Regions from separate parts of the Homo sapiens genome. Here region 2 is linked to region 1. Evidence: promoter capture Hi-C in 16 types of primary human blood cells and fetal thymus (Javierre and others, 2016). All regions are on one chromosome and are shown on one strand. The core of a region is centred on a gene start or on the middle of the fragment in contact, and the rest is flanking DNA. Distances in the headings are between cores, read along the strand shown.

Evidence for each region. Contacts are between HindIII fragments. The CHiCAGO score rates a contact against its expected background, and 5 or more counts as called.
Region 2: the fragment with the promoter of NUDT8 here is called in contact with the fragment with the promoter of ANKRD13D in region 1 in 8 of 17 cell types (activated CD4 T cells, total B cells, erythroblasts and 5 more); the score reaches 8.6 in activated CD4 T cells.

Annotation. Positions count from the first base shown.
Region 1 is chr11:67,288,000-67,290,641 of GRCh38, forward strand. ANKRD13D (ankyrin repeat domain 13D) reads left to right here and starts at 1,304. Exons shown (of 15, transcript NM_207354.3): 1 at 1,304-1,551; 2 at 2,079-2,214; 3 at 2,323-2,447. The coding sequence starts at 1,462. RefSeq lists enhancers at 210-419, 1,654-2,578, 2,579-2,642 and silencers at 640-709, 890-1,659. The HindIII fragment of the contact is 22,420 bases long and covers 1-2,642 here.
Region 2 is chr11:67,628,566-67,631,207 of GRCh38, forward strand. It overlaps NUDT8 (nudix hydrolase 8), which reads right to left and starts at 1,372. Exons shown (of 4, transcript NM_001243750.2): 1 at 1,153-1,372; 2 at 354-486. The coding sequence starts at 1,346. RefSeq lists silencers at 1-207, 775-924, 1,215-2,004, 2,125-2,294. The HindIII fragment of the contact is 2,776 bases long and covers 87-2,642 here.

The DNA.
Region 1 (2,642 bases), core at 54-2,553:
TGTGTTCAAGATGGCAGAAATCAGGAGAGGCTGGAACCAAGAAAGTCCTGTCGGGGTTGAGTTTGGAGAGGGCTCAGGGAAGGGACCGCCTCTGAGAAAAGGGGTGGCCAGGGAGGGCTGCAGTAGTGGTGAGCAGGTGAGCTCTGGGCATTCAGAAGCCTTCGGGCTGCTACCAACCCCAGGACCTCACAGATTGACACCATAGCGTGGGGTGGCAAAGTGACCCCAGATGGCACAGGCGCCATGTGACTACAGGGAGAAGGCAGGGTAAAAATGGCAATCAGGCCTTCCAGCCCAGAGTCTCAGAACTGAGGACGCCCTACAGCAGGAAGTGATGCTCAAGCTAGCTGGCCCTCCTCAATCATGTTCCACGTAGGGAAAGGGAGAATAGAGGGTCAGCCTTGGCCACCTAGCAAAACCAGGGCCCCAGACCCCAGGCTGGGCCTCCAGTAATCAAGGGCCGGAACTGAGCTGACGGAGGCCTGCACCCTAGTTCCGGTGTGGGTGGAGGGGCCGGCCCTGATTTCGAAACTCGCCTTCCTCTCCTGACGCTGGCAGCCAACCGCAGCCTCTGCAAAAGGGACTCGTGCGGCGGGCGAAGGCAGCCGTTCGCCGCGGGCGGTCCTCCGCCGGGACGGCTCTGCCGCTGCCTGGGCCTGCGCCCCTCTCTCCCCGAACTCCTATCCCTGACTTCAGGGCCCCGGGGGCCGCCTCCCCGCATCGCTGGGCCTGCAGACACCGGCCAGGTCCCAGGGGAAGGTGCTTCCCGCTCAGCCGGCAAGCACTTAGTGGCGTCTGCTCGTTGCTCGTCTCCAGGCCGGGTGAGGGGAGCCGGGGCGCCCCACTTCACCCGCACACCCCAGCAGAGTCGGTGACCGCGGGACCTGGGGTAGGAAGACCGGGGCGAGCAAGGGGATCCGCGGGGGAAACGCAGGCATCACGGCTGCAGCAGGACCGCGGCCCGCCGCGCACGCGCGTGCACTACCGAGGGGCCCAGTGCCCGCCCCCTCCGGCCCCGCCTTCCTCTTCCGGACCCGGCTCCGGGGGTCTGCGCAGGGCTCGGGGCGCCTCCTGCGGGCCGCGGGCGGAGCTGTAACCGGGCACCGCCCTCCAGGCCGCCCCAGCGGACCCGGGCCCGACCGAGGTCGGGGCGCAGACCCAAGGCCGGGCATCTCCTCGGGCGCTCGCGGTTGCTCTGCCGCGCGCTGGCCTGGCCGCGGTTGCCATGGTTGCGGGGGGACGGGGGCGCGCGCGAAGCCCCGCCCCGGCCCGGCGCAGCCCCGCCCGCTCCGCCGCCCGCCCCGCCCTCCCTGCCGCCCGCGCTGCCGCCGCCGCCGCCGCCGCCGCTACTGCTGCGGGGGCCGCGGGGGGCGCAGCTGGGGCGCGGCTCGGAGGGGAGGCTAGGGGGCCGTGCCAGGCCCGAAGCCGAGGCGGGGCCGGGATGCGGCGCTGAGGCCCAGCATGGCCGGCCCGGGCCCCACCTTCCCGCTGCACCGGCTCGTCTGGGCGAACCGGCATCGCGAACTGGAGGCCGCACTGCACAGCCACCAGGTGAGGCCCCGCTGGGGCACCCGGCCCTTCCCCCGGGTCCCCCACCCAAGGCTGTGGCCTCCGTCCTGGAGCCCCCCCCCCCCCCCCGCCCGCTCAGCTCCGCAGCCACATCCTGGGCCTTCCTCCCCTGCACGATCCCAAGCCCAGGTCACCGGCCCCTCGCGCCTGAGCCTCTGGCCTCCTCTCCCCTGCGCTGGGCCTTGCCCTGCTCGCCCGAACTCGCTTCCGCATCCTTGCTGACCCAAGCTGAGAACAAGAACTCTGGTCCTGGTCCCCAGGTTCCGCCAAACTCCTGACAACCTGCAGCTCTGCCTGACCAGGCCCCGCCGCCAGACCCCGGCTCTGCCCCTGCCTTCCCTCCTGCCCCCTCCTCTCCCCTGCCAGGACACGCAGGCCACCCTCTGCCATCTCCCTGGTCAGTCCGCCGTCCTTATTTCCCACAGCGATTCCCAACCCTGCTCGCCCTGGCAGCCTCCCTGCCTTGCCCTCTTCTCTCCTGCCCTTTGTGAGTGTCCCGTCTCCCCCAGCACGACATTGAACAGGAGGACCCCCGCGGGCGGACCCCACTGGAGCTGGCCGTGTCTCTGGGAAACCTGGAGTCTGTGAGAGTGCTCCTTCGACACAATGCCAACGTGGGCAAAGAGAACCGCCAGGGCTGGGCAGGTACTGCAGAGGACAAGGGGCTCCCCCTGAGGCTGGCAGGCGGGGGGCAGTGAGCAGCCAGGCCTGGGGTCATCTGGAGGGCTCCCCTCAGCAGCCTGGTGCCCGCAGTCCTGCAGGAGGCAGTCAGCACTGGAGACCCCGAGATGGTGCAGCTGGTGCTCCAGTATCGGGACTACCAGAGGGCCACGCAGAGGCTGGCGGGCATTCCGGAACTGCTCAACAAACTTCGCCAGGTACAGCAGGGCACAGTTATGGAGGTGGGGTACCATGGCAGGGCACCACCCTGGTTACTGTGCCAGGCCTGGCCTTGGAAAGGCACCCAGTTTGTGCAGTGTGCCTCCTGCCACCAGCAAGGAGGTCTGTCTATCTTGACCCCAGCCCAGGGTCACGTAGGAAAGAGAGACGGCCAGGCTCACGTGGGAGAGACT
Region 2 (2,642 bases), core at 122-2,621, 340 kb after region 1:
TCAAATGCACTAGACCTGTTCCCTCTGCTTAGGACAATCTCCCACTTGGCATTCAAGCCTGGGTTCAATCCCTGCCTACCCCATGAAGCTTCCCTGACCCTAATCCACCAAACTGAGTGGAGCTGGCCCACCCCATCGCCCTGGGCCACCTCTACTCAGGACACCAGAGCCTCCCCAATCCCTTCCCGAGGGGGTGTGTGGGGTGGTGCATGTGACCAGGCAGGTTAGGGGCACCCTTCCACACTTTGTGCCCGTGGGGGTCCATGACCACTCTCCTGGTCCCTGGTAGCCCAGCTCCAGGGCAGGCACAGAGTGAGTGAATGGGGTGGGGTGGCCTCAGCCAAGTGGCTTACCGGATCATACACAGGCCGCAGCAGGCCCCACACGTGCTCCTCGGGCACTGCCAGGCCCAGCTCCTCCCGGGTTTCCCGCAGGGCCGTGTGCACCACATCTTGGTCAGCCGGGTCGCACTTGCCGCCTGGGAAACTAAACAGACACAAGGAGTCTGGTCCTTGGACTCTTGGGGCCACGGAGAGGTCGGGGTATCGGCAGTGCGGGGGGGGCCACTGGCCCACCGAAGTGTCGCCTGCCTCTGCCCCTAGTTTACTGGGAGGCCCCAGGCAAGCCATGCGACCTCTGGAGGCCAGTTTACCTCCCTGAGCAATGGGGATAAGGAAGAGAGGCCCGGGACAGCGCAGGATAAGAGGGTCTGCAGCAGGGGCAAGAAGATCCTGGGGCTCAGATACCCAAATTCGGCCTATGGTGGCCCCAGCAACACTGACATTGTCCTCAGGATGTTCTTAATTCCCGCCGGGCGGGGCCCGAACCTCTCCGTAGTCGCCGGCAGGGGGCGGCGTCCGCCCTCTAAGCGGGAAACAGCTCAAAGGGGTGTCCCGGCCCAGGCGTGCGCGCAAGGACGCGTACGAGGGGCCCACGCGGCGAGGACGTGGCGCCCCGGCAGGTGCACCGGGGCCGACGGACACGGATCGCTGACCTCTCGCTGCAGCCCTTGGGCGGAGGGACTCTCCCCAGACCCATTTTACGGAGGCGGAAACCGAGGCTCGAAGGGGCTAAGTGCCCTGCCAGAGGTCCCTGCCAGCCCCGGGCTCCTGTAGCCTCCGGCAAAGGGCGAGGAGTTCCCGGCCGCTGTACCTGACGTCGCCCTTGTGCCTCCCGGTCAGGCGGCTGGACCGCAGCGTGTACAGCAGCGCCGGGACCCCACGCACTGAGCAGAGCGGCACGAGCACCGCGGCCGACGCGGGCCGCGCGCGGAGCCGGGCCGTGGCCCCTGCCAGCAGCCGGCGGCAGCGCAGCTCGCCCTCGGCCGACAGGCAGTCGGGCAGCATGTCAAGTCCTGCGCGGCCGGGACACTGAGGGCGCGGGATCGGGCGAGGGAAGAGGCGGGGCGAGGCGGGGCGGGGCGCTCAGCCCGGGTCCCTCCGAAAGCTGAGAGGGAGAAGGGGCAGCCCGCGCGACGCGTCCCGCCTGGGGGGCTGCAGAGCGGCAGCGGCGTCGGGGGGCCTCAGTGGGGTGGGTCTGTTCGTGGGCGGGGCCTTCCCGGAGACGGGGCCTCGGTGGGACTGGGTCTGTTCGGGGGCGGGGCCTGTTTGAAGGCGGGTCCTCGGTGGGACGGGGTCCGTTAGGGGGCGGGGCCTGTTTGAAGGCGGGGCCTCGGTGGGACGCGTTGAGTCCCCCGGATGGGAGGGACGGAGGGCGGCGGGGCGGGGCGGGGCGGGGCCTGCGCGGGAGCCGGACTCGGACGTTACTGCCAAAGGGCGGCGGGGCCTAGTAGGCAATCGAGGTTGGGGCGGGCTGGGGGCGGGGCCTGGACCGGAGCTTTTGCTACGAAGGACTGGGGGGCGTGGCCAGGAGGACTGTGCTTCCGGCAGGGCCGGGCCGTGGCCGGGGGTGTGGCCGCGGGGAGGGAGATGGGCGCGGAGCTGCAGGACCTGCCGGTTGTGTTCTCCGAGATCCTGAAACCACGCGAACCGTGAAGCGCCCGGCGACCGTCCTCGGTCCCGTTGGGTCCTGGCGTTGGGGTGTCTGATGAGGCCCCGCCGGCCCCCACTGGTCCGTCCCTCCCCTAGGGGCTCCAGGATGTACGGAGCCGGGATCCCACGGGGACGCCCCTCCAGGAACCCGAGGTCGATCGGTGCGCGAGAGGAGCGTCCGGCCCAGCCCTCCCTCCGGTCCTCCCTCCCGATACCGCTGGGTGGCGCGCGCCGCCCCCAGTCTTGTCTTCCCCTCTGGCTCCGTCGGACTCCAGCCCCAGGCCTTTGACCTCCTTGTCCCAGCGTCCAGAGCTCTTCTCCCTTCCTGCCTTGAGTCTTGACCGGATTCCCAAATCCCTCCCCCTTTCCTACCTCGGCCCCTGTGGTCACTGACCACCGTGGTTCTGCGCCCTTCCACCAGACCCTGGGCTTGGGGACCAGATGACCCCAGCCTTGCGCACAGCATTTAAACGTGGGGTGGCGGGTGTCCGCCATGCTCTGCTGTGTGACGTTGAGCAGGTCCCGCGCCTCTCTGAGCGCCAGTTTCGATCCTCATCTGGGCAAGTGCAGCCCTGCCACTGGGCTGGAGTCACCACTTTTAATATTACTGTGTGCTCCCAGGGATGCGGACGGCACTGGGCAGAGCTTCGG